Linked DNA regions of Homo sapiens: all the other regions are linked to region 4. The links are contacts of gene promoters, found by promoter capture Hi-C in blood cells and fetal thymus (Javierre and others, 2016). All regions are on one chromosome and are shown on one strand. The core of a region is centred on a gene start or on the middle of the fragment in contact, and the rest is flanking DNA. Distances in the headings are between cores, read along the strand shown. Region 1 has its middle 37 kb from the start of CNPY1. Region 2 overlaps RBM33 (RNA binding motif protein 33). Region 3 overlaps RBM33 (RNA binding motif protein 33). Region 4 holds the start of PAXIP1 (PAX interacting protein 1). Region 5 has its middle 37 kb from the start of RBM33-DT. Region 6 overlaps RBM33 (RNA binding motif protein 33). Region 7 has its middle 27 kb from the start of SHH.

What was found. The method cuts DNA at HindIII sites, captures the fragments that hold promoters and counts their contacts. A CHiCAGO score of 5 or more calls a contact.
Region 1: a contact is called between a fragment that was not itself captured here and the fragment with the promoter of PAXIP1 in region 4, in 1 of 17 cell types (neutrophils). The highest score is 6.0, in neutrophils.
Region 2: a fragment that was not itself captured here is called in contact with the fragment with the promoter of PAXIP1 in region 4 in 4 of 17 cell types (neutrophils, fetal thymus, naive CD8 T cells and 1 more); the score reaches 6.9 in neutrophils.
Region 3: a contact is called between a fragment that was not itself captured here and the fragment with the promoter of PAXIP1 in region 4, in 4 of 17 cell types (fetal thymus, total CD4 T cells, total B cells and 1 more). The highest score is 7.5, in fetal thymus.
Region 5: a contact is called between a fragment that was not itself captured here and the fragment with the promoter of PAXIP1 in region 4, in 2 of 17 cell types (neutrophils and naive B cells). The highest score is 6.2, in neutrophils.
Region 6: a contact is called between a fragment that was not itself captured here and the fragment with the promoter of PAXIP1 in region 4, in 6 of 17 cell types (naive CD4 T cells, neutrophils, non-activated CD4 T cells and 3 more). The highest score is 7.6, in naive CD4 T cells.
Region 7: a contact is called between a fragment that was not itself captured here and the fragment with the promoter of PAXIP1 in region 4, in 1 of 17 cell types (monocytes). The highest score is 5.4, in monocytes.

Annotation. Positions count from the first base shown.
Region 1 is chr7:155,581,753-155,585,759 of GRCh38, forward strand. No RefSeq gene overlaps it. Among named protein-coding and RNA genes, the nearest start is that of CNPY1, 37 kb to the left of the region's middle. The HindIII fragment of the contact is 2,017 bases long and covers 1,107-3,123 here.
Region 2 is chr7:155,691,371-155,695,400 of GRCh38, forward strand. All of the region lies in intron 5 of RBM33 (RNA binding motif protein 33), which reads left to right. Among named protein-coding and RNA genes, the nearest start is that of RBM33, 49 kb to the left of the region's middle. The HindIII fragment of the contact is 1,641 bases long and covers 1,402-3,042 here.
Region 3 is chr7:155,712,761-155,716,697 of GRCh38, forward strand. All of the region lies in intron 8 of RBM33 (RNA binding motif protein 33), which reads left to right. Among named protein-coding and RNA genes, the nearest start is that of RBM33, 70 kb to the left of the region's middle. The HindIII fragment of the contact is 3,679 bases long and covers 1-3,337 here.
Region 4 is chr7:155,000,574-155,004,373 of GRCh38, forward strand. PAXIP1 (PAX interacting protein 1) reads right to left here and starts at 2,551. Exons shown (of 21, transcript NM_007349.4): 1 at 2,276-2,551. The coding sequence starts at 2,356. It overlaps PAXIP1-DT (PAXIP1 divergent transcript), which reads left to right and starts at 2,860. Exons shown (of 1, transcript NR_028090.1): 1 at 2,860-3,800. RefSeq lists silencers at 1,692-1,841, 2,012-2,381, 2,412-3,101, 3,122-3,201 and an enhancer at 3,446-3,800. The HindIII fragment of the contact is 20,481 bases long and covers 1-3,800 here.
Region 5 is chr7:155,605,158-155,608,962 of GRCh38, forward strand. No RefSeq gene overlaps it. Among named protein-coding and RNA genes, the nearest start is that of RBM33-DT, 37 kb to the right of the region's middle. The HindIII fragment of the contact is 2,786 bases long and covers 1-2,775 here.
Region 6 is chr7:155,668,559-155,672,496 of GRCh38, forward strand. All of the region lies in intron 2 of RBM33 (RNA binding motif protein 33), which reads left to right. Among named protein-coding and RNA genes, the nearest start is that of RBM33, 26 kb to the left of the region's middle. The HindIII fragment of the contact is 2,057 bases long and covers 1,617-3,673 here.
Region 7 is chr7:155,783,166-155,787,130 of GRCh38, forward strand. No RefSeq gene overlaps it. Among named protein-coding and RNA genes, the nearest start is that of SHH, 27 kb to the right of the region's middle. RefSeq lists a silencer at 2,996-3,196. The HindIII fragment of the contact is 927 bases long and covers 1,058-1,984 here.

The DNA.
Region 1 (4,007 bases), core at 865-3,364, 580 kb after region 4:
TTATAATGGATACCATAAATTTGTATTAACATGGCATCTCACATTTAAGGAGTTTTTGAGGCAAGGTAGTGTTGAAAGTTTCCCCTCCAGGCAAAAAAGAATGAATAAGAAGAGAAAAAGCCAATAACCTCACCCCTCTGAGGTTTAAAGCACCGGCTCGTTTACTGGGATATATATTTTTCTTTCATTGAATTGTTTTGTCTCTTTTACTTAGATTGAAAACCTCGTGGGCAGGGATCACGTGGCCCTTTTACCCCCGAGCGTAACCAACAATAATCACTCGCTTTAGATAAATGCGTGTAAGAGTGAAGGCCTGTATGTCTAGTAGCTACGCCAACACCTGTGCAAGTGCAGAGAAAGGCTGCGGCCTCCCCTCTGTTACATGTTGCTTTCCCTGTGCAGACAAGAAGTGAGCCCCTTTTCCTGAGGGGGTCCTTGGGTGCCAGGGCCGGCCAAGAAGAGTGTGGGGAGGTCTCACCACCCCCTATTTGCACAGGTGACTGCCAGGCTTGGAGGGAGCCCATGGAATAGCAAAGCCCTGGAGAATGAATTCAACTGAGAAGGTGAAGGAGTGATCTTCCCCTTTTGGCATAAGGAGGGACAGGGCAGGAAAGGGGCACCTGCAGAGGACAGGTGTAGAAAAGGCTACACTACAGGGAAGGTTTCTATGAGGGTCTGAATGTCTGTATCCCCCCAAAATCCACATGGTGAAACTTAAGCCCAAATGTTATGGTATTACGAAGTAGGGCCTTTGGGAGGTGATTACTCATGAGGTCAAAGCACTAATGGAATCAGTGCCCTTTATAAGGAGGCACTTTATAAGGAGTGCCTCTTTTATAAAGAGGCCCAAGAGAACATATTCACCCCTTCCACCATGTGAGAGCACATCGAAGGTGCTCTTTATGAGAAACAGACCCTCACCAGATGCTGAAGCTTTGTGGCTCTTGATCTTGGACTTCCCAGTCTCTAGAATGGTTAGCATTACATATCTATTTTTTTTAAGTTACCCAATCTAAGGTATGTTGTTATAGCAGCCTGAAGAGACTAAGAAAGAAATTGGTACCAGTAGTGGGGATGTTGCTATAACAAATACCTAAAAATGTGAAAGCTTCTTTGGAGCTAGGTAATGGGTAGAGGCTGGAAGAGTTTGGAGGTGCATGCTAGAAAAAGCCTACATTGCTGTGAACAGAACAGCAAGGATGATTCAGGTATAGGCACAGAAGAAGAAGAGAGCCTCTGAGAAAACCTCAATCTTCCTCAAGATTGATAAGAGGTCAGAATGAGAATGTTGGTAGAAATATGGGCAGTAAAGGCCATTTTGATGCAGTTTCAGAAGGAGGAGAGGAACATGTTATTGGAAACTGGAGGAAAGGCCATCTTTGCTATGAAGTGGCAAAGAACTTGGCTGAATTGTGTTCATTCCTAGTGCTTTGTGGAAGGATGAATTTGTGAACAATGAAATAAGGTATTCAGCAGAAGAAATAACTAAGCAAAGTGTTGAGGGTGCAGCCTGGCTTCTCTTGACTGCTTATAGTAAAATGAAAGAAGAGAGAAATGAATTAAAGATGAAATTTATAATCAAAAGGGAAGAGAACCTAAAGATTTGGAAAATTTTCAGCCTGGCCACATACAGAGCAAAAAAGCATGTTTAGGAGAAAAATCAAGGGTGTAGCCAAGCGACCGCTGATAAGGAGATTGGTATGGAGAAAAGGAAGCTGGATGCTGCTCATCAAGACAGTGGAAGAGTGACCCCAGGAACTTCTGAGCTTCTCAGGGCTGCTCTGCCTGTCACAGGTCCAGAGCGCTAGGGCCTTGGGGATAGAATGATTTCAAGGCTCTGCTGCCCATGTTCCAATGCAGTGCTCCTTGGCCACCCCACCTGGGCTCAAGCCCACCTAGGCTCAAGCAGGCCCAGGTGCAGCTCAGCCCACCCCTCTGGAACTCACAAGCAGTAAACTCTGACAGTATCTATGCAGTGCCCTCTCTATAGGAGCTGTGGTGACATGGTTCCCTCCATCCAGATTTCACAGGATGGCCTGGAGAGCCCCAGCTCCCACGGAGAGAACTGACACAGAGGTGGGGCCACCTCAGAGAGTTCCCACTAGGGCAATGTCCAGTGGAGTTCTGAGGGCAGGAGTGCCCACAAGACTCCGGTACTGTAGATCCAGCAGCAGTGTGCAGCCCCAGCCTGGGAGGGCATGGACCTCCAACCAGGGAGAGCTTCAGGAGTTACCATAGACCACCACCCTCCCCGACCCCTCCATTCAACCACTGAATCTCTCAATAGCTTCCAACTCACCTCCTCTTCACCCCCATCCTCCTCCCTCTTCTGGATGACTGCAGGCCTCTTTTCCAGGCTTCTCTCCCCACTCCAGGCTCTCCACAACATTCTCCACAGTCATGCTGCTGAAAACCAACCCAACTGTGACCCAAAGACCCGAATGCCCAAGTTCTACCAAGTTCCACCAAGGGTTCCCACATTACCTTAAGGATAAGGGAGATTCGTATGGAGAGAAGGAAGCCGGATGCTACCCATGAGGACAGTGGAAGAGTGACCCCAAGGGTTATCCTCTGCATTGGCATAAAAGCCCTGCACGAGGGGCCCCTGGCTGCGACACGGCAGCACCATCCTCTGGGCACCTTGCTGAGAGCTCTGTACATGCACTGCACCTCTGCGCACAGGCTGCCCCTCGGTCTGAAAGGCTGAGCCACCCTTCCCAGTGGTTCCTAGTCCTTCAAGACTTAGTCAAGATCAGCTCCTCCAGGAAGACTTCCCAGAGCACCATCCTGCCCCTCCTTGTGAGTCTGAGCCTGGTTCCAGCACCTCCAGCCTCCATCGGAACCCCCAACCCACCAATCCTCCAGAGAGGGGCTCCCTGGGCTGGGCTGGGCACCACTCTCCCTGGACCTTGGCACTGGACATAACTTCCAGTCTGGGACACAATGGACACCCAGTAGAAAGTGTTTCTGAAACATCAATAATGGACTGACGTGGAGCAAGTCACAACGACCCCAGGACTCCACGTTTCCACCAAGTGAGGGGATATTACTCAGTGAGCTACAAGACCACTTCCAGCCCTGCTATTGCACCAACTGTCCTTGAACTAAAGCCACTGAAAACAAAGCTTGGCATAAGACGGTCTTTCTCAGATGGAACATAGCTGCTCTCATGATCTGTCATGCCACGTGACACGCCATATTCTGCAGGCTGCAATGCTGCAGCATTCGTGACCTTGGGAACCACAATTCTGACAAAACAAATTAGACACTAAGCATCTCTAGCTATCATTAAACTTCCCCAGCAGCAGGGCGATGATCGGATCAGACCTCAATTCTGCTCTCAGTTGTAATAGGAGTTTACAGCCATATGTGCCTCGTTGCCTGAGGCACAGTAAGGCTGTGTTTAACAGGGCTCACGCTAGGGAAATAATGTTCCAACGGATCATAAATAATATTGCATTTGCATCGTGCATGTTTTTCCCTGTTTCCTCTCATCATAAGAAAAGCTGTATGCATTTGGTTCATCCTTCCCCAGAACACATCCAGCCTGTGTTATCAGAAGCACACAGGGAGGAAAATCTACTTCCATCTGATGGACGCTGTTAATCTGAGCACAGCTGAGCTGTACCTGGGGCTCCAGCCAAAAGCACATGCCTCAGAAATGACGGCAAGCACACCCAGACCAGGGCGGGAATGAGGAACTTCAGATCAGCCAGGCTCCTCCTGCAACATGGCCCGTCAATTCTCCACTCTAGGGGGCTCACCTTTTCTCTCGGCCGATTCTTTGACGTTTCAGGCTACACACAGGGGAGACAGAGTGTGTGTGTGTTCATGTGTATATGTATGTGTTTATGTGTGTATACGTATGTGTTTATGTGTATATGTGTGTTTGTGTGTTTATGTGTTTGTATGGGTGTATGTGTGTATGTGTGTTTATGTGCTTATGTGTGTATGTGTTTATGCGTATGTTTATGGGTTTGTGTGTGTGCGTGTGTTTACGTATGTGT
Region 2 (4,030 bases), core at 972-3,471, 690 kb after region 4:
AATCTTTTTTCAAGGTTTTTAGCTTCTTTGCGATGGGTTCGAACTTCCTCATTTAGCTTGGATGTTTGTGGTATTTTGAAGTTGGAAAACTAATTTTATTGTTTGTTTTTCCTTGTAATTTATTTTAGTTTTTAGATAACAATATTTTCTTTATTCTTCCCTGATACTCTATAATATTTGTAGCATATCTTAAAATAGGGAAAGGTTTTGTAGATTTCAGTTTTCAAATGATGGTTACGTAAACTTTTATTGCAAGGCAGTTAAAGAATGTTAACAAGTATTATCATTGCCTGGGTGCCTTCTGGAAGTGCCTTCTAGTTCTAGACGTTTTTAACTTCAGTTCCTGGACAGTCCTAATTAATACATTAAAACAAAAGAGAGCTACTATAAAAAATGGTGACCTGGCTGGGTGCTGTGTCTTATGCCTGTAATCCCAGCACTTTGGGAGGCCTAGGTGGACGGGTCACTTGAGCTCAGGAGACCAACATGGGCAACATGGCAAAGCCCCATCTCTACCAAAAATACAAAAAATTAGCTAGGTGTGGTGGCACACACCTGTGGTCCCAGCTACTCAGGAGGCTGAGGTTGGAGGATCACTTGAGCCCAGGAGGTGGAGGTTGCAGTGAGCTGTGATTGCGCCACTGCCCTCCAGTTTGGGTGACAGAGTGAGACCCTCTGTCCAAAAAAAAAAAAAGAAAATTTTTTTTTTCTTTGATTTTCAGTGTCTCTTGTGTGGGGGAGGAGGGAGAAAAAGAAGGACAAATAATGTGGGACAGTAATTCAGGACTTGATTAAGCAAATGAACAATAGGTGTATGAAAATATATTCAGTAAAAATTAAAAGAAAATGGAGAATTTTAACCTACTTTAATATTAACAGACCTCAGAATTATTGATCAGATGTAGTCTGATTCACTTGAGGGAGCGTTTTGGTAACATTGTCAGGAGACAGTTTTCTGAGGGTCCTTCATTTAGCTGCAGGTTTTGTGAGCAAAGCGAGCAAATCACTGCCTGTCCTTTGTTCCGGAATATCTTTTAGAGGATTCTGGTGTAGCAGACAGCTACAGATGCAGTGTCTTCCTCTGGAGTCAAGGACAGGTTTGCTTACTCCCCATTGTGACACATTCAGGGTTTCCTGTGCAGAGAAGTCCTTCCTGTAACACAACCTCCTATGTGTGCAGGGTCACCTGGCTCTCTTCACACGGCCCAGTTGGGAGTGGGGCTTCTTGGAGCTGGTGCAGAATGCTACTGCTAGTGATACAGATAACATTGTCCTAGTCTCCTTATTTCTGACGAAGAGTCTTAGCTTTCTTACAGCTTCCGTGAAATGGTGGCCAACTAACTTGTTAGCTTGCAAGTAGAGTAAAATCTTATACTCTTCACTGTTCTTGACAGTATTAAAAGCTTTAAAGCTCCTGTCCTTGGACTCAACAATTCCACTTTAACAAATTTATCCAAAAGAATTAATCTGTGTTCAAAGGTATATGTATCAAGTATTTGTTTGCAGCATTGAAAATAAATGGAACCAATGTATAAAAGAGTAAATCATGGCCTAACCTTAAAGTGTAATGCAGTATACCAAGTGTTGTCTTAGTTCTGTTTGACTTGGAAAGGTGCTCGTGATGCATTAAGTGTAAAGAGCAAGATGATAGAATTCTTCCCTTCAGCTCCCCCTGTAACTGCAAATCTAAATATGTGTGTGTAATTCTCAAAAAAAACAAAAAGTCTATGTAGTTACAGATGGAAATGGTAATAATGATTACTACTAAATGGTGGAATTATTTAGTCTTTGTATTCCAATATTTTCTGATTTAAAAATTTTTTTACTGTAAGCGAGAAATATTCTTTTTCCTTTTTAAATATGAAAAGACAGGGAAACATAAGGTGGTTAAACGCCGACCCTTGAATTTGGAAGGCAAAGAGCTAGAAGTTGCATCTGTTTCACTCTTGTGATTTTTTTTTCTTTTTTTTTTTCTTTTTTTGCTGTTAACACTCTCACATGAAACTTCCTAAGGGTTGTTTTCAGTATGAATCTTTCTAGCAGAAAGTAAGAGCTCATCCATATTAAGTATTTTGTCTTTTTTATACCATCTGCTAGATGTATTATTTACTTTTTACTTTTAAACTGTGTATCTCATAATTTAATTTTAAATTTACTGTTGAAAAATATTTTTAAAAGGTATTCGTATATTTACTTTTTTTATCCTTTCCTTGATGGTTTTAGTTTACTTTGTTTATGTTGCTTGCTTTTGTGATGATGGCAGGTTCTTTGTGATGCTCTTGATCTTAGGACTTTCAGTTGTCCTTCCTGGAGGCTGGTGATGTGCTGGTCTTTTCCACTAGCAATAAATATTTGGGGCTTTTTTTTTTCCCGGCTGCATTGTAGAATATTAGTCAATGAGATAATTATTGGGAACTCATGCGCATAATACTGTTTTAAGTGCTGAGAAGTAGAAGTTGCTAGTATTTCAACTTTTGTAGGATTTGGTTTTGGAGGGCTTGTGATCCATCTTTTTTAGAAGTCTAAATAAACTGTGTAGTCCTCAGGGAGGAGTACCATTTTTAATGTGCCACATATCCGTCTGTTTTGGTGTCTTCCTAGTTCCTGGACTCCCTTTCCTAAATATCTGCATTGTTGCCGAGCATCCTGTTGTGCCCCATCTGTGTTGCCGCACGCTTTGGTCTGCATTGCTTAAGACTGGCAGAAAGGGTGTTGCGGTTTTCCAGATGACTTCATTCTAGGAGCTCTGTTAAGGTCTATATTAGAATCTTAATTATAGAACTTAAAAGCAATTAATTAATTTTAATTGAAAAGCCTATTTTAGGTGACTCCTTTTATTTAACTAATGTTCTTCCTTGGTTCATATAGAGAAATCATTATATTTGAAACAAGTTAGATCTAATTATAAAGACTAAATATCAGTCTTTTATAGTTAATGCGGCCACATTAGTGCTAGTTATGCTATTGTCTTCTAACATAGTTATTTAAAAAGACTTGCCATTTTCACATAGTTTTGGCATGTGTAGAGGAAGAAATGAGAGAAGCTTTAAAAACATATTTGCACCACTTAAAATACTTGTGAAATGGTGATAATGTTTACACTTAGAGATAAGCATAGATGTAAAGTGTACAGTAAGTTTTGATACATGTATACATCCAAGTTACCATCCCTTGGTTGATAAGGAACAGTTCCATTACACAGAATGTTTTTGTCTGTTCAGTCCTGACTCCTCAGAGTAAAGCGTTCTTATTTCTATACCTAGATTGGCATTTCCTAGTCTGGAACATCACCTAAATGTAGTCATATAGTGTGTGTGCGCTCCTGTGTCTTGCTTCTGTTGCTCGGCACGTTTTTGAGATTCATCCAAGTAGTTGTGTGTATTAATAATTTATTCCATTTTATGGATGTACCCCATTTGTTCATTCTCCCAATGATAGACATTTGGGTTGTTTCCAGTTTTTTTGTTATTATGAATAAAGCTACTAAAAGGATCATATTACCCATCTTTTTGTGGATGTATGTTTTTGTTTCTCTTGGTTATTAACAAGTAGTGGAATTGCTGAGACGGTCTAGAGGTATGTTTACTTTTATAACAAACCACTATTGGTTTTCCAAAGTGGCTGTACCATTTGGCACTCCCACCGGTACTGTGGGGGAGTACCTCATTGTTCCTCATCATTTAATGTTGCCAATCTCTTGATTTAATCCTTCTAGTGAGTGTGTCATCGTGGTTTTAGTTTCCATTTGTCTGACCTCTAGTGATGTTGAGCACCATTCCATGTGCGATTGGACTTCCGTATATCTTCTTTGCTTCTAGTTTTAGTCTCTCACTCAAAAAAAAGTGGGTTGTCTTTTTATTTGTTTCTATATATGCTATATATATCCTATATATTTTTCATAGGATATGCTGTCTATACATGTATTTTCTACATGTATCATCTCTATGGAGAATATGTATGCATACATACTGCATATATTCTAGGTAGAGATAGTTGTCTGTATATTCTGGGTATCATTCCATTGGCAGAT
Region 3 (3,937 bases), core at 248-2,747, 710 kb after region 4:
TCAAAGCAGAGAAGAAATGCAGAACCTGGGTACCGTGGGGCCGTGGGGCCATCCAGCCATTCTCAGGACTTTGGCAGGGAGTGAAATGGGCAGGGATTAGAGGGGTTTGAGCAGAGGAATGACGTGACCTTGTGTATGTTTTAGAAGATTCCTCTTGCTGCCGTGTTGAGAGGAGACTGTCGGGTGGCAAGGGTGGAAGCTGGTGTCTAGCTAGGAGGTGACAGATGATCCTGGTGCAAACCAGTGTGGTAGCAGGGAGAGTGCAGAGAGCTCAGAGCTGGATGAAGTAGGAAGATGGGGCCGATGGGATTTGCTGATGGATTGGATGAGTGTGAGAGGGAGAGAGGAGGTAAGAGTGATGCCCAGGTGACCAGAGCATTTAGAGGGCTGGTCTGGTTGCCATCACCTGAGGTGGGGAGATCAAAAGTTCTGTTTTGGGTGCATTAAATTTGAGATGCCAACTAGCCATGTGAGTGGAGGGGTCTAGTAGGCAGTTGGATGAGAATTCAGTATAGGGGTTTGGGCTCAAAGTACAGGTCAGGAGGTTGTTGGTGAATAGGTGGATTTAGACCCTGCCCTCAAATGAGAGCCCTGGAGGAGGGAGTCTGTGTGTGGGGAGACCAAGGACTGGGACCTAGGGCACTTGACACAGGAGGGGGAGGGGCAGGAGGAGAACCCGTCAGGGAGGCCAAGGACTGGGACCCCGGCACTCGACGTGGGAATGGGGGCAGGAGGAGAGCCTGGCAAAGGAGCCGAGAGGGAGGAAGGAGGATGACGGTCGATGGGGAAGGAAGCAGGTGGCCACGGGCTGGCAGGGCTGCTGCCAATGGGTCAGTGGGTGTGGCCTGCACTTGGGGCGGGGCTGGTGAGGAGGAGGCACAGGCCTGGCTGAGATGGGGCACGGACTTGAGGCCACTGTATTGACAGACTTTGACTGTGTTTTGCTAAAACAGAAGTTGGATGATAATTGATGGGAGCCAAGTGGGCTTGAGAGAAAGTTTTTTATTCTAAGTTTTTTATTCATTGCACTTACAGAAAAGAGCTAGTTAAGAAGGAAAAACATCATTGATGCAGATGAGAGGAAAAACTTGTCTTGTCCAGGACCACGTGCCAGAGGTGGGCTTGCTGAGGGGGAGGAGCAGGGAGTCCTCCACAGCTGGGGCAGATGGATGGGCAGGTGGAGGAGTCTTGTGTCAGTTCTTCCTTGGTGGCCTCAGTTTCCTCGGTGGGTAGCAGGGAGCTAGAGTGGGGAGGTAGGAGGGCGTGTTGAAGGTCTGAGGAGAGGCGCTTTGGAGCATCCGTTCGTGCTTTCGAAGAGTGGATGTGCGCAGGGATGGATGGGGCTGCTGAGCCCTTGAGGGGTGTGGATTTGAGGTGAGGGCAGTCAGCATGGTTGTGTGTCTCTGTCCAGCTGCGCTCATCTGCGCACACTAGGTGTGGAATAGGCAGGCAGTTGGGTTTATGAGGGTCATAGTTTTCACAAAGTAGTAAAGGGAAGGCAGTGCTGATAACGATGGGCTGTGGATCATAAGGTAGATGCCAGGGAGGAGAAGACACCAGGGAGGAGGCTGAGATGGTGAAAAGGAGATCATTGGAGATCTTTGTAGAGTTGAACGATTGTTTGAATCAGGATCCTAGAGGGAGTGAGATGGAAGGGTGGAATGGTCACCAGGACTGGAGGCAGAGGTGGCACGGATCTGAGGCAGGGCACGGCAAGGGCCGTCTTTGTGTTTATTCAGACTGGAGCTGAACTCCCTGAGAAATGAGAGGGCCAGTGTGGTGCTGGGGCATGTCAGCTGGTGGCATGAGATGAAAGCTGGGTCTGGAAGCAGCAGTTAGATCAAGAAGGAGCCCTTCTACCTCCAGACCTTTGGCAAGAAGCTGTGGGAGAACAGCTGCCACTCAGAGGGGCCATTAGAGCGAGAAGGTGAAGGAACTCAAGGGTGTGGTGGATGCTGCTGATGGGTGGGGAATTTGGGATTCCTAAGGGTGTGGGAGAGAAGTTTCAGAAGTGGAGAGTAGCCTAAGGTAGTAGTTCAAGTGCAGGGGATTGGCCAGTGGCCTAGATCCTGGGACCCTCCCATACGTGGGTGAGAAGTATTATGAAGTTGTCCTGTGGCCATGGAGCAGGGGACTGTGATGGTGACGGGCTGGCCCAGAGTGTAAGGGAGGGGGGCGCCTCTTGACAGTGTCTGCGGGTCACCACCAGGCCACTGGGCATGGCAGAGAAGCATAAGGTTTTAAAGTACAATTAACTCCTAACCCCTCCTGACCCCATCGCATGTCCCTGTGTTCCCCCAAAGTTTTTCCCACCCTGGTTAGCATCGCTCATCCACACATCCTCTTAGGTGGCCCTGAGCGTCGCTGATTGGTGTGGTGCCTACGTCTCCTGCAGTAGCCGTTGAATGAATGGAGACATGAACACACGCATACTTGAATGGGGAAGGGTGGCTTTCTTTCAAGTAATCCTTTGCATCTTCCCCATAGTGGTTGTCCTGAACTTGGAACTGCTGTCAGTCTAATTTGTTGGAATAATTTTGCTTATGCTAGCATCTGTTATTCTTGTGCATTTCCTTGTAAAATGCCGTGGAAAGCTGGCAGCTGGTAATACGTACAGATTTTCTTTAGCTTCACTAAAATAGTCTTAGAAATATAGGGTGGTAAAGCTGTCAGGAAGCCCCAAGATATCCTCTATGTATGAAAATGGTGTCCCCTGCAAAAGTCAACAGCCTGGCAAGTGTAGAATGCAGGCCTTGCACCCCAAAGCGCACGTGTGATTTAGCAACTACTCCAAGGTCAGCTTTCTGACAAAAGTTTTTAAACTCAGAACCAGCTAGCTTTTTCTCACCATGAAACTAGGAGCTTTAGTGCCGCATGTCCCTTATCTGTCATTTACCTTTGACCTTCAGAGGTACACTGACACAGGAGAGAAGGACAAAGTGTTCTTGCTAGGTAGATAGGCAACACTTTCGAAGCAGTTGTTTATTCTCTAATAGATGAATGAGCTTAAATAGAAATGCACAGTTCCTCTTGAGAGAGACTGAATATCAAGATGTCTCCTGTAGGTAAAAGATACACAGATTAAACCTTTGATTCTCAGAGCCTTACACAGATGAAAGGTGCTTTTTAAAAAAGCTAGCAATATATATACATCTTCTTCTGATGGCACAGACTTTCTGAGGATGAAGAGTGTTCCGTTATAATTTATTTAAAAACAATTTTGATGGAAATTTAACTTGTTTCCAGGTTTTTAGTATTATAATTATAATGAATTGAAAACAGTCCATTAAATACATGGGACAAGTTATAAATATTAAACTTCAAATATTCAAGTTGAAGCTTCAGCTAGACTGGTCTCTAACATCACACCTGTTAAATTCTTCGCTGCAGTAGTCGGGCAGCCAGGGCCTGGCAGGGAGAGCCCGCAGACACATGCCTGGGTATTCCCACTGAGGTGGCATCTCTTGGGTGGGCCAGGTGTCTGCACTGTTCCCATGGGGACTGGACTGTCCGCACGCAGCAACCCTTTTTGTCAGCTGTTTTTCCTTTTCTGCTGTTTTTTTTTTTTTTTTAAATAGGGAAAAGGCTGGTACTTTGTGCAAATTACCAGCTCATCAGAGGCTTCTGTGTAAGAAATCCATTTATTATAATCAGATTGCTTTCTAGAAATCCCACCTCACCTTCTTGCTCTCATTCTCCTGGTTAAAGAGGCTTAATGTTTTATCCTTTTATCGTGTTGGAATGTTTTGGTAGATATTGGCATTTAAATTCCAAGTTTCTAAGTGGTACCTATGATCGAGTTAGTGAAGATCTGGGTGTCTTATATTTGTTAACTTGATTATAAAAATCACGTCTTTACATTTAATATGTAGTGTTTTTCTTTGTCACCTTCATTATAATCTTCTGAGGTCAGAGATATTCTTGTTTTTTTCTTTCT
Region 4 (3,800 bases), core at 1,301-3,800:
GTCTAACCTTTCTGTTCTCAGTTTCCATTCACTCTTCAACTCCCTGCAATCCAGCCCCTTCCACCAACACTCTACCAAAAACACTTTACTCGGTTTTCACGAACTTTGAGGATGCCAAAACCAATAGCTTCTCTTCAATCTCCACACTACTGAGTATCTTAATAGATTTATCTCATATCACTCTGTTCCAGATATAGTGATCATCCTGATGTATCCCAAACGCATGAATGCCTTCATTCCTCAGCACATACGCTCCACATGAAAATATTCCTTCATGTTCTTAACTTCTGCTTATCTCAAAACCCAACTGAAATGACATCTACTGAGTGACATTTCAGTGGTGTCTACTTTGCACCCCAGTGGAGAAATCTGCTACACCTTGTACTGTGATATGTCCAGGTGTGCTCCCTCCCCCACCAATGAGGGGCGCTAAAGGGCAGGTACCATGTCCTCTTCACCTCTGTATTATACCTGGCACCTAGTCCATGCCTGCCTCATATTAGATGGTCAACATGTGAACTTATAATCCACAGTCATAAGAGTCAGAGAATCAGATGTCCAGGCTCAAAACTTTTCAGAAAATATACTGTTTCAGATGAAAGTGGTTTGCCAAGGACATTTTTAAGCACTTAGATTTGATTCAAAGTCGAGTAAATATGGTTCCAGTTCAACTTGTTCCAGGTTTTAAGTAACATTTGGTTCAAGTCCCCTATAAGAGCCAAAGTCCTAAAATGAAACACGAAGGCTAGGAAGGAGGGGGAAGAGAAAAATGGTGGATAGCAAAAAACAAAAACAAAAAAACAAACAAAAAAAAGAGGGGCGGGGGAATCATCAATACTGGAAAAAGCTAACACTGTTACAGGCACTCATCTTCATCGCTCCGTGTTCAGCAACTGTTTTACTCTGTAAATTCAAAGATAGAAGGCTTTTTTTTTTTTTTTGAGACGGAGTCTAGCTGTTGTTGCCCAGGCTGGAGTGCAGTGGCGCGATCTCGGCTCACTGCAACTTCCACCTCCCAGGTTCCAGCAATTCTCCTGCCTCAGCCTCCCGAGTAGCTGAGACCACAGGCGCCCGCCACCACGCCCGGCTAATTTTTGTATTTTTAGTAGAGATGAGGCTTCACCATGTTGGCCAGGCTGGTCTCGAACTCATGACCTCAGGTGATCCACCCGCCTTGGCCTCCCAAAGTGCTGGGATTACAGGGGTAAACCCGGCCTTGAAGTCTCTTTACCCTAAAGTTACAGGGCAAAAAGGGTCCAAAAAGTTGTTACAAGGACGAACCTCAAGAAGGCCAAGATCACTCAGCCTTCTACAATTCCTTCTACACCATCCAAGTTCATCTGCGAAATATGAGTCTCCGCCCTTCCAGGCCTAACTCTGATCACTGGGGATCCCCATCCTCCAAGGTGGGGGCCACTGATGTCACACCCAAGGCAACACAACTGTACAGCTAAACTTTTAAGAAGGAAATATTTTGAAGATTAACCTGAAGAGGATATTCAACTAAGATGCATTCCTACCACGGACTGATAACTGTGTGACATCAAACAGATATATTATTATAGGAATACTAAGGAAAACCCACAATATCCTTTGGCGTGAGCCCAAACTACACAAAATTAAATGTGTAATGTGATGGTGTTACCAGGGTACCGTAAAATTAATCGTCCAAGTGGGAAAATCAAGGAAGACGAATGCCAGCCCCCACGTGCAGGGACACAGGCTGGAAGGGAGCGCTCCTCAGCCCCGCACAGGACGGCAGCTGCCCGGGTGGCGGAGGCGGCCAAGCCGGTGCACGGCCACGACCCCCGCCGGCCGAGCGAGGCTGGGGTCCCCGCGCGAGCTGCCCCGGCTGGGGATCCCGGCGCCCCTCGTCCGCCCTCGGAGCTGCTCTCCCGGGAGCCGAGACGCCCGGCGCGGGGAATGGGGAGACGCGACCCCGCGCCCGTCCCGCTCAGCAAAGGAGCAGAGAACGAGGCGGCCCGGTGGGTCGGGGGCGGCGACCCCAGGGCCGCAGGCCGGGGGCTCAGGGCGCGCACTAGGGGCCGAGGTACAGAGCCCCAGCCGCCTTCCCTCCCGCACTCCCCCGGGCCCGGGCCTCCCGCGCCCACCCCGCGGTCGCCCCTGCCCTCAGCGCAGTCAGGCCAGCGGCCTCGGCGGACCCGACGCTCTGCGCCCGGCGCGCGCCCGCGGCAGGAGCGGGGACGGGGACGGGGACGGGGACGGACGGGGACGCGGACGGGGGAGGAGGCCGCGGCAGGGGCGGGCGCGGTACCTGCGGGTCGATGTCGCCCACCGCGTAATACTTGACCTCCCTGAACATCTCCTCAGGAACTTTGGGCGCCTGGTCCGACATGATCGCGGCGGCCCGGGAGGCTCCGCGGCGGCGCCCGGCCCCGCCCACCCCCCGCCCCCGGCCCCCGCGGCGCCCGGCGCCCCCACTCGCCCCGCCAACGGCCCTGCCCGCGCAGCCCGGGCCCGGTCCTGCGAATCGGGGTCCGCTCCCCCGCCCTCCGCGCCCCCGCCCGCGCCCGCGCCGAGCGCCCGAAGCGCGGGAGCCGCGCGCGCCCTGCGGGACGCACCATCCCGCCCCGGCCACCGAGGGGGAGCGCCGAGGAGCCGCCCGGCCTCCAGTGACGCCCCGCGCCTCTGCCGCCAGCCACGGCTCCGGGGTAGCTGGCGCCGGCAGCCCGCTCTGGCCCTTGCGGTTCCGTGGCCGCCGCTCTGCAACGAGGGGGCCCCGAGGACGAGGGGAAACCAGCTCCCCCCTCGGCGGGGCCGGAGTGAGCCGGTCCCGGGGAGGAGGGGAGCTGGCAGGCCCCTCCCGTCGCCACATGCGGCTGCTCGGGGGCGGCGCATGCGCGCGGCGGAGGGGGGGGTGGGGCCTTGGGGCCGCGAGTGGGAGCGGGAGCGGTTCTGCGGCCTCCTCGGGCTTCTTGGCCCTGGGCGGAGTGGGATTGGGTGTCCCGGCTGTTCGCAGTGGCCGCGAGTGCGGCCGGACCTGGAGTAGTACCTGAGCCGCTCTGGCCGAGCAAGGCGCGGGGCCCCGGTCTACACCGCGCTGGACCCGGCTATGCCGTGACGGAATTCCCGAGGCCGTAGCGCCACGCGAGACGCGCACTGGTGGCCTCCGCGGCGAGTCCTGGGGTCTCCGCAAGGCCTCAGTGCCCGAGCTGGGGACGTGCTGGGGGGAGGCCCGGCCCCGTCGCTGCCCGAGGCCCCGCTGTCCCGGCCGGACCGGCCTGGTCCCTGGCGTCCTGTCGGGTCCGCGCTGGAGGAGAGTCCCAGACAGCAGAGCCCGCGGTGCAGCTCCAGCCCCGGGAAGCCCCGCGCTCAACAGGTTAATACTACACAGCGGCGATTCTAATGGTCACGCTTTTATTTACAGCTCGCCTCCCTTCCGCCAAGATTCACAGAACACGGCAGAGTGGCCTCGGGATCACCTGCCCAAGACACCTGCACGACCGGAAGTTGGGAGAAGAAATTAAGGCCATGATGATGAACGCAGCCTTTCTCGTTTATTTCCAATCCCACAACAAACCGGAGTCCAGGAACTCATGGGTGATTATCGGACTATTACCTAGTCGTAAAACTGTGGAGCATTGGTGTCTAAAGGAATCTGAGACAGACCCGCAGTGTCTCCCCCACATGCCTTAAGTCACTTCTGCCAAGCAGAAAATCATTTTTAAGTAAATGTTAGTGAAATTGGTTTTAAAAAAGAGAAGGGGCCGGGCGCGGTGGCTCACGCCTGTAATCCTATCCTTTAGGAGGCCGAGGTGGGCGGATTGCCTGAGTTCAGG
Region 5 (3,805 bases), core at 133-2,632, 600 kb after region 4:
AGAAAACAGTGCAGTGTTGATACGTGAATAGACAAACTGAAGAGAGGAATTGACTAGAGGGTCCTGAAATGACCAAAACACGTGGAAAATCAGTGTCCGGCAGAAGCGGCATCTCACACCACTGGGGTAGGGACAAGTGTTTTAATCAATTGACTGAACAGTTGGTGGCCTTTGAGAAAAAGATAAAATTAAATCCATATGTCACACCAAACATAAAGATAAACTCCCAGTGGATCAGGGATCTAAATATTTAAAAATAAAATAATAAAAGTACTAGAAGAAAATATGGTTAAATTCCTATTCAACCTCCACATTGAGTCTTTCTAACTATAACCCCAAATCCAGAGGCAATTAAAAGAGAATAATAAATTTGACTACATAAAAATAAAATAAAGCTGTGTGGCAAAATATCATAAATGAAACAAAAAAGCCTGATAAATTGGGAGAAAATATTTGTAACGTATATCACGGATGAAGGACTCATGTCTCCAATCTATAAAGACGTCTTTAAAATTGAAAGAAAAGAACCAAAAAAAAAGAGAAAAATTGGCCAGGTGCGGTGGCTCACGCCTTTAATCCCAGTACTTTGGAAGGCTGAGGCAGGCAGATCACGAGGTCAAGAGATGGAGACCATCCTGGCCAACACGGTGAAATCCTGTCTCTACTAAAAATACAAAATTTAGCCAGGCGTGGTGGTAGGTGCCTGTAATCCCAGCTACTTGGGAGGCTGAGGCAGGAGAATCACTTCAACCCAGGAGGTGGAGGTTGCAGTGAGCTGAGATCATGCCATTGCACTCCGGCCTGGGCAAAAAGAGTGAAACTGTCTCAAGAAAAAAAAAGAAAGAAACATTTAGAAAATATATGAACAGATAATTCACAAAAGAGATGTCAAAATGATCCTCGCCATACAAAAAATGTTCTACCTCACTCACGACTAGAAATATGTAAATTGAAACCACACGGAGATAGCATTTCTTGCCTATCAGATTAGCAAAAATCAGTATGAAAATCCCTTCTTCCTCTTCTTCTTCTTCTTCTTCTTTTTTTTTGTCACCCAGGCTGGAGTGCAGTGGCACAATCTCGGTTCACTGAAACCTCTGCCTCCTGGGTTCAAGCAATTTTCCTGCCTCAACCTCCCAAGTAGTGGGGATTACAGGTGCACACCACCACGCCTGGCTAATTTTTGTATTTTTAGTAGAGACAGGGTTTCTCCATGTTGGCCAGGCTGGTCTCAAACTCCTGACCTCAAGTGATCCGCCCGCCTTGGCCTCCCAAAGTGCTGGGATTACAGATGTGAGCCACTGCGCCTGGCTGGCAACGCCTTCTTCTGATGAGGCCATGGGGAATCAGCACCCTCCCACACTGCTGGTGGGAGTGAAAGCTGGCACAGCTCTGGGAGGCAATTCGCAACACCTAACAAAATGAGATCTGCACTTATTTAGAGTCACCTACTCCTAGGATCCCACTCTAAAAACATACCTCCGACAGCATGAAACTACATACACGTGAGATTACTCACTGCGGCACTGATCGTCATCAGAATATTGTGGGAATAATCGAAACGGCCATATGTAGGACAGGAGTTGAGTAAACTGTGGTGTCTCTACAGGATGAGGTCGCTTTCACGTAAGAAGGAGAAGAAAACATACCGTGCTCTCTGTTCATCTGCTGTTTAGTTCCGACTTTTAGAACCAAGCTAACCATTCCAGGTAAATGAAATAAATAAATAAGCCGGAAGGACCCACGTGGAATACAAACAGAAACTAACCGACCCAACTGTATTAGAAAGAGATGCCAGAGGCTGGGCACGGTGGCTCATGCCTGTGATTCCAGCACTTTGAGAGGCCGAGGCAGGTGGATCACAAGGTCAGGAGATCGAGACCATCCTGGCTAACACAGTGAAACCCCGTCTCTACTAAAAATACAAAAAATTAGCCGGGCGTGGTGGCGGGCACCTGTAGTCCCAGCTACTCGGGAGGCTGAGGCAGAAGAATGGTGTGAACCCGGGAGGCGGAGCTTGCACTGAGCTGAGATCGCGCCACTGCACTCCAGCCTGGGTGACAGACAGAGGGAGACTCCGTCTCAAAAAAAAAAAAAAGAAAAAAGAAATAGATGCCAGAGGCCAGGTGCAGTGGCTCACGCCTGTGATCCCAGCACTTTGGGAGGCCGAGGCAGGCAGGTCATGAGGTCAAGAGATCAAGACCATCCTGGCCAACATGGTGAAACCCCTTTTTTACTAAAAATACAAAAATTAGCCAGATATGGTGGCATGCACCTGTAGTCCCAGCTACTCGGGAGGCTGAGGCAGGAGAGTCACTTGAACCCAGGAGGCGGAGGTTGCAATGAGCCGAGATCACGCCACTGTACTCCAGCTGGGCAACAGAGCAAGACTCCGTCTCAAAAAAAAAAAAAAAAAAGAAATGACATAGCCACACTGAAGGGGAGTGAGCAAGAGAAGAACCAGCCTAGGTACGTTTGGGAAATAGCATTTTTACCAGATTCTCTAAAACTCGAAGGGTTTTCCAATGGCCAAATCTGTGACATTTTGAACATCATAAGTAATGATTATAATGAATTATAATTCATAGAATAAAATGGAAAATCAGGATTCCATCTGGCATAAAGAAAGAATTGAATGCTTAAATAAATGGGAAATAGCGAAAGCTCTTCCTTGCAGTAGCATCACAAGTAATACATGCAGAATTATGAAGTTGTACAGTCATCATTTGGCACCCATCATCATAATAATTCAGCAAGAACCATCAATGGATGCTAAGCTTGTGGGGGAAGTTTGATTAGGAACAGCATATTCACACAGCCTCGAAGTATCTCTCCATACGTAGATACATATTACACAGGGAAAAGGGAATTCCCAGTGGAAAGACCTGGCAGACACCCTATTGACCGAGTGAGAAGAGTTACCATCAGCAGGAACAGGACAAACCGACTGAGGCACAGAGAAGCATCCCTCCTGGGGTTTCCTGCCCAAAATGCATAGCGAAGCCCTCAGACAAACTGAGCAACACTCTGCAAAATAACTGGCTAGCGCTCTTCGAAAGTGACAAGGTCGTCACGAAGTGACAAGGTCATAATAAAATGAAGACTGAGGATCTGTTCCAGATTAAGTAAAAATTAAGAAACATGACAACTGGCCAGGCGTGGGGACTCACGCCTGTAATCCCAGCACTTTGGGAGGCCAAGGCGGGCGGATCATGAGGTCAGGAGATTGAGACTATCCTGGCTAACACAGTGAAACCCTGTCTCTACTGAAAATACAAAAAAATTAGTTGGGCGTGTTGGCAGGCACCACCAGTCCCAGCTACTTGGGAGGCTGAGGCAGCAGAATGGCATGAACCTGGGAGAGCTTGCAGTGAGCTGAGATTGCGCCACTGCACTCCAGCCTGGGCCTCCGTCTCAAAAAAAAAAAAAAAAAAAAAAAAAAAAAAAGGAGAAAGAAAAAGAAAGAAACATGACAACTAAATGCAACATGTGATCCTGAATTCGATCCTGGACCAGAAAAATGCAGATTCGTGGCCCTGACCCAAGACCTCCTGAATCAGAACATCTCATGTTAAGGCCCAGGAATCTGAATTCTAATTGGCACCATGTGACTCTTCAGTGCACTAAAGTTGAGAACGATATGGCTGTGATCTTATCACATGACAGGCATGACTCAAACGATCCAGCAAACATATCCAGGACATTTACAAATGGCGAAAGGTGTTGTGAGGGAAAGGTGGAGGGAATGATGACCTCAGACCACACAAAACACAGATGGGATCAGATGGGAACAGGGGAAGGCTTG
Region 6 (3,938 bases), core at 1,395-3,894, 670 kb after region 4:
TGGTGAACTTTGCGTGGTGATACCTCTGCTTTTCCTGTTACCTGTAGTACTAGTACACTAATATACTACCTAATAGTACTGTAAACTAGTTCGTTCTTGAGGTAGAGATTACATAGAAAAGACAGGGTAAGTGATTGAGTCTTTCCTGTTGTTTACCAAGTTTCAAACTAAGAAGTCAGCCCTAGCACTTGCAGGGATGAGTTTTGTTTTTGAATCATTTTGAAATCATAGATTTAAATGTTGGTTGTGTTGAATCCATTGTCGTTTCGTATCTTTATTGGTGGTTACATTGCCTGATATTTGTTCAACTGGAATTTCTTCAGGTTGGCTCCTGTGTCCATTTGACATGACTTTAGATGTCTTTGGCAGCTGTCTTGCTTTCTGCTATGATGGAACTTGTTTTGGTCATGGTGTGAGACGGTTCTAGGTTTTATTGTTTACCGTATTATGAATTGCAGTTGTTTCATATTGTTTGTGAACGAGCTCTTTTTTTTACTGTCTTCAGTGACGTGTTTGCATCTATGAAGCTTTTGCCACATGTATTTCTTTTTTGATGTTTTAAGCATAAGACAGCCTCTCTGTGTGCTGCATGACACAGAGAGAGACACTTGGAAGGTGAGAAGAGTGGGTCAGGAATTACTATGGTAAGTTCTTCTGCCATGCTGTACTGGTAGTGGTGTTTGGAAGAATATGATGTCATTGCTGAACCAACACCTGAAATTGTGTTTTATTTATTTTTTTTAAAGATATGAATGTCTCATGTGTCCAGGCAAGAAAGAGATACCCACTCAAAAAGTTTTTGTTTGTTTTTGTTTTTGTTTTTTTGAGACAGAGTCTGCTCTGGAGTGCAGTGGTGCGATATCAGCTCACTGCAACCTCTACCTCCCAGGTTCAAGCGATTCTCATGCCTCAGTCTCCCGAGTAGCCGGGATTACAGGCATGTGCCACCGTGCCTGGCTAATATTTATATTTTTAGTAGAGAAGGGGTTTCGCCGTGTTGGCCAGGCTGGTCTTGAACTCCTGGTCTCAGGTGATCCAACCACCTCAGCTTCCCAAAGTGTTGAGATTACGGTGTGAATCATCATGCCTGGCCCAAAAAGTTTTAACTGAAGAAATTTAATGACGGGTCTATTTACAGGCCAGGGTTAAAGAACTAATGAGTTCATTCCCATCCAGGGAGTACCAGTTCCTGCCCCGGCCTTGTGGGAAGTGGTGTCCTAGGGCCCAGTGAAGGCTGTTGGGGGAGGGATACTGTAGTCTCTATTTCTTCAGGTGAGAGGGGAGGGGCCGGTCTTTCTCCTCCTACTTGGTGACGTTATGTTGGTGCGTCCCAATGGGCGAATCCATCTGGAAGCCAGAGGTTAGGACCGGCTGTGCCAGCTGCTCCTGGAGGACGCAATCCAGCCACAGAGCAGGCAGGTAAGACGGAGAGTGGACTAGAGTGGGGAGGACCCAGAGACTACAGCCCCACTTACAGTGGTCAAGTTCACTTCTGGTTTTGAAAGGCTGTAGCCAAGTGGCTGACAACAAATACTTGTTTCCTGAAAAACGTCTTTGAGGATAACTTCTGTTTCTAAGTAAAAATATACTTGCTTTCAAAGAGCTCATTGTCTGTAAGCTTTAATAAGAAATGCCTGCCAGAAAGATTGTTCGTACTCAAGTAGTGATTACTGGTGGAATCTTTAGGGAACTCTAGAATTGAACACAGGAAGCCTCTTCATCAGCCCAGTGCTTGTTTGATTTCCTAGAACACTTACTGCTGCTGCCAGCCAGAGTGACTGCTCACCCCTTTGAAACTGCCAGATGGAGACCAGTCATTTCCATTAGTTCATTGTTGTTTTTGCCAAGAGTGGATGTAGTTTTACATATGTAATAAATTTATTCCTTATGTGTACATCCTTTGTGAGGGTCCAGCTTTACGATGACAAGAAGAAAAGTACATGTAGTTTCTGTGGGGTGTGTGCATAGTAGTTAGGACTTGGATTCTCTCACTGGTGTCACCACTTCCTAGCTGGATGACCTTGGGCAAATTAGCATCTTAGTGTCTCTGTTTTCACATTTTGAAAATGGCAACGGTGTGTCTACCTGAGAGGGGTATTATGTCAATGAAAAGCTCGTGTGTGTGGAACATGTCAAGTGGTGCCTGGCACAGAAGTGCATTGAGCGGATGCTGTGGATCGCTGGGGCTGCTGTTTATACTTGCTGTTGTTCTGTACTGAATCCCACTGTCCCCCATCCTGTTTCTCATTAGTCATGAAACAAGTACTAGTCTTCATTTTCTCTACTCATTTTATAGTTGATACACTTACTTATCTTTTTAAAAATGTTTTCGTTGAGAAAAAATAAGTAGTTATTAAAGGTTGATTTATTTCCATGTACTTGTCAGCAAGAGGCACAGATACTTTCTAGATTTTTGCTTGTATAATTACTAATGCCTGTTTTTATGACTTTGTCAGTTTGCCCTGGGAAACTGGCATCACATTCCATTTTTAGTTACTTAAGGTGATGGTATAGACGAGTGCCTGTCTTTAAAAGAGGTGCTTGTGTGTTTTTGGTTATCTGGAATCAAATTTTCAAATGGGGTTATTGTAAATATTGTTGACTAGACAGCATTGTTTTCTCCCTGCCTCTGGAGGGTAGTTGGAACACTGAAGATACAAAAATTGTATTTGATAGATGATAGTGGTTTTAAAATGTTGGAAGAAGCTATATGTTATTCTCTTATAACTATCCTATAGGAGTTTGTGAAAGATTGTTTTTCAAGGGCTGTTAAGTTCTTGTCCTGCATCTGTCACTGCTGTGTGACTTTAGGCAAGTTATTTCATGTCCTATCCTTGTTTTCTTTATCTGTAAAATGTAATATAGGACTTACTGGAGGATAACTTAAAATAACGAATAAAGTCTTTAGTGCATGAATTAAATGATTTGTCAGGTTGTTTTTAGTTCTAAAAGGCGTTATATAGAAACATGCATTTCATTATAACTCCATATATGCATTCCCGGAGATTATAGTATTCTGCAAAGTGGCATGCTAAAAATAAACATGATTTTTTGGTAAAATAATGGTTTTGCTGATTTCTCAATACCTATAGAATTTTGTAACCAGAGCACCTATTAAAAATAAAGCAGCAATTCTAATAACAATATCGATGCAGTTAAATCTCCATGAGTATTGGCACCTAGAGTTACAGTCCATCTAATTGTATTTCCTCTTTGTATATTTCTGTATGTTGACTTTTAATGATATTTGCTTCCAAGAGATTGATTTCCCCAGAATTAAAAACATGATCTAGTGGTAGCCATTTTTATCAACTAAAAAAATCTTGTTTCTAATAAATGCAGTGGAAAATGTCTTCAGCTTTTTTATTTGCTAAGGGTTTCTGTTTTAGTTGTAAAAATAGGGAGAAAGCCGGCTTCTAATCATTTAAAACAGAAATATGCTAGAAAAAATTGCAAATCACTGATACGACATCCATGTTATACAAAGCTAATTTCCCTTAGTTACTGTGATTTGATTTTATGTTCTCGTTCGTTTTTAAAATTTATTTTTTTTTTCAGTTTCTTTTGGTTTGATGAATGTCAAACGGTCTCTAGTGGTTTTGGTTTTTATCTTCCTAATCAATTATATTGTGCATCTTTTCCTTCTTCATTAAGGTTTTTAAAGATAGGAGAAAGCTTAGATATGACTTACTATATTACAGTTTCTGCTTTTACTGATTATTCAACAGACCCAAAGAGATTAAGATCCCATATTAAGGTACAAAACTAAGATTAGAAGTATAGTGAGGCACTACCTATAGCAAAGCCTCCCCATACTTAAAAAGATAAAATGTTCTCTGTGCATTTGAAAATACATTTTTATTATTAATAAAGAAAGAGGAAAGCATAGCAAACTTAATGTAAAAGTATCCAAGCTGGCCGGGCATGGTGGCTCATGC
Region 7 (3,965 bases), core at 271-2,770, 780 kb after region 4:
AGAGAAGAGGCAAATTTGGGAAATTGAAATGGAGGAGGAAGCAACAGGTAACAAAAGCGAAATGTGTTGGGTGAATTTCTCAAATCCGATTTAATTGAATTTTTAAGCCTAAGTCATAATCTGAAAATGCCATGTGATTAGAGCCCAAAGCAGTTTTCTTCCTCTTTAATCCATAGTTCAAGAATAAGTCATTCCTTGTTTTTAAAACCTGTACTTTGGGTAATGGGATCTCTACAGAACATGGGCAAAAAACGCCTTGACATTTCAGGGAGAAAATGGGGCTTTCTTTGAATTAAGGGTACACTCAAGAGTGGTAGATCCTTTGAAGAAGGTATTGTTATTTCCCATAGTTGCCCCCTGAGCAGTGCCTGGCATGCTGGAGGTCTTGGTGTGTATTTATTTAGTGCAACCAATTACGTGAGGCAGTGTATTTGTGGCAGGCCCAGGGGTGTCCCCGTCCCAGACACAGGAGGTTTGGAAGTGGTTCAGGTGTGTGGCACTGATCATTCCTGTTGAAACATGGCCGCTGAGTCCTGAAATCTCACCCTTGGTTTCTGCCTGTGTCACCGGGAGTGCAGTGGTGCAATCACAGCTCAATGTAGCCCTGATTTCCTGCGCTCAGCTGATCCTCCCACCTCAGCTTCCCCAGTGGCTGGGACCACAGGTGTGCACCACCATGCTCAGCTAATTTTTAATATTTTTAGTAGAGACAGGGTTTCACCATGTTGTCCAGTTTGGTCTTGAACTCCTGGCCCCAAATGATCTGCCTGTCTTCGCCACCCAAAGTGCTTGGATTACAGGTGTGAGCCACCGTGTGCGGCCAGGTCCTTTTCTTATTCGAACATGTATTTGCATGTTTTGAAAGAGTGACAGTCACGTCTGAAGGGAAAAGTAAGTGATAAAAGAGTTCTGTAGGAAACACACAGTACTGACAATTGGTGGCTCTAGGAACAGAAGCACAGAGCCATGTGTTGTACACCTTGAGGTGCAGCTCGTTGCTGTGTGCTTAAAAGAAATGAGAAGCACGGCAGTTTTGAAGCTTCACGCTCAAAAAGGAAGCTTTCTTGCTGACCTTTGGTGTTGCCTGCAGGCCGCAGCGAGAGGGCAGAGGTCCTTGCGGCTCTTCTCTAGGGTCCGACGTAGATCCAGACAGGAAAGTCAGTGGGGCATTCTGGACATGTCGTCGCACCAGGCTGCAGAGCTGGACACTGAGGAAACCCCTCCAGAAAGAAAGCCCTACCTCCCGACCCACTGCAGGTGACTAGAGGACTGGGCAGATGCCCTTCAGACCAGACGGAGAGGAGCACTTCTCTGATTCCAAGTAACAACAGCTGCTGTTGAGGAGGTGTAATGAAAACCGCACCTAAGCTCTTCACCCAGCTTCGAAAGCTAGCCTGGATGTTTTCAATCTCAGACGCTAGTCGTGTTTTTTCTCTAAAATTGACAATGGAGAGAATTTTTTCTCACCATCAAGGGAGAGCATCTGTGGATGGTGTCTGAAGAATGATACCATGTTTTGTTCTCCTTATTTTTTTGGAGACAGGGTCTTTCTTTCTCTGTCACCCAGGCTGGAATGCAGTGGTGCATTCCTGACTCACTGCAGACTTGACCTCCTGGGCTCAAGAGAACCTCCCCTCTCAGCCTCCCGAGTAGCTAGGATTACAGGCGTGCACCACCACACCTGGCTAATTTTTGTATTTTTTGTAGAGATGGGGTTTCACCACATTGCCCAGGCTGGTCTTGAACTCCTGAGCTCAAGCGATCCGCCTGCCTTGGCCTCCCAAAGGGCTGGGATGACAGGCGTGTGCCTTCCAGTGCTGCTCCTGGCTTCGGCTTCTTCCCTGGCCCTTACATTGCCAATGTGCACCTCAGTCACCAAAGGCAGGCTTCGCCTCAGCTTCCCAGGATGGCCGTGCCCCTGAGATGATGGCACCAGCCTTGCCAGGGAGCCTCTGATGACAGCCGTTCAGATGATGTCATGTGAAGCTTCCTGAAATTTTCTCTCCCATTAGTCTTTAATCAAGGGAAAACACTTATTTAACAAAATTAATAGATTAAAATCCCAGTCCTTAGAAAAAAAAATCAGTGAAATAGACAAACCGCTAGCTAATTAAGAAAAAAGAATGTACAAATAAAAAGAAACACAAGAATTGCTATTGATAAAAAGGACTTTTTTAAAATTGTAGAACGTAACATCAAATTATGTAAAACATGTAGCATCAAAATTATACATCAATATATATGATTTTAACTGTCAGTGTCCAGTTCTGTTTTATTACATATGTTCACACTGCTGTACAGCTGTCCCAACCATCCATCTCCAGAACCTTTTCCTCTTACAGAACTGACACTCTGTCCCCATGAAACACAAACTCCCATCCCCTTCCTGAGCCCCCAGCACCCCCCGCCCCCACTCCACTTTCTGCCTCTGAATTTGACGACAATAAGTGCCTCATGTGGTTGGGATCCTATGGTGCTTATCCTTTTGTGACTGGCCTGGTTCACTTGGCACGATGTCCTCAAGGTCCATCATGTGACAGCCTGTGTCAGGATTCCCTTCCTTTTCAAGGCTGAGTCATATTCCATTATAAACACACAGTGCATTTGTTACCCATTCATCCATCAGTGGACACGGGATGCTTGACGATGACGAATGCTGTTACGAACATGAGTGTGCACACGTCTTTTTAAGAGCCTGCTTCCAATTCTTCTGTGTCTGTATGGGGGCGTGGAAATGCTGGGTCGCATGGCAGTTCTATGTTTAATTTTTGAGAAACTGTCATCCTCTTTTCCACCGCAGCCACAACATTTGACATCCCCACCAACAGTGCTCAAGGGTTTCTTCCATTTCGCCACATCTTCACCAACATGTGCTATTTTATGTTTCTTTGTTTTTGTGTGTGTCATAGCCACCCTAATGAGTGTGAGGGGGTGTCTCATTGTGATTTGGAGTTACATTTCCCTAATGGTTAGTGAGGTTGAACATCTTCTCATATGCTTGTGGGTCATTTGTTTATCTTCTGTGGAGAAACACCTATTCAAGTTCGTTGCCCATAAAAGGGATTTTGTAAGCAATAAAAGACTACTTTGTAGATCTTTTTGCAGATAATTTAAAAACCTATGTGATATGGACAATTTCTTAGGATAAACAGTGTATCAGTATCAACTGCTGTGGAGATCTAAAGCTCATACCAGTCAATCTCTACAGAAAAAAATAAAATGATCAAAAAACTAGGCATGCAGAAAGGCCCACATGTTACAGAGGAATTCTACTAAATGTTTGGAGACCAGATATAACTTATGCTGCATAAATTGTTCCAAAGCATTTAAAATGAGAAAATTTCCACATCCTTTTAATGAAGCAAATATATCGTTTATATCTATACCTGGAAGAGATAGCACAGAAAAGATGACCAACCGATAATGTTTATGAATATTGATGCAAAAAAATCCTAAATAAAATACTGGTGAACCAAATACTACATTAAGAAACACAAGGCCGCGCGCGGTGGTTCACGTCTGTAATCCCAGCACTTTGAGAGGCTGAGGCAGGCGCATCACTTGAGGTCAGGAGTTTGAGACCAGCTTATCCAATGTGGAGAAACCCTGTCTCTGCTAAAAAAAAAAAAAAAAAATAAGAAGAAAATTTTTTTAAAAATTAGCCGGGTGTGGTGGCAGGCACCTGTAATCCCAGCTACTGGGAAGGCTGAGGTGGGAGGATCGCTTGAGCTGGGGAGGCGGAGGTTGCAGTGAGCAGAGATCCTGTCACGTCACTCCAGCTTGGGCAACAGTGAGTCCCTGCCTCAAAAAAGGGAAAAAAAAAAGTTTTATGAAGACACGAAAGCAATTCGCAGTGAATTCCTTGTCTTGAAGCCCCCATTTGTGGAGGGATATTACATTGCCTGAGGACCCCAGGCAGCCTCCCTGACGGCCACGCATTGGGGCTGCATCAGGCATTTCAGGAC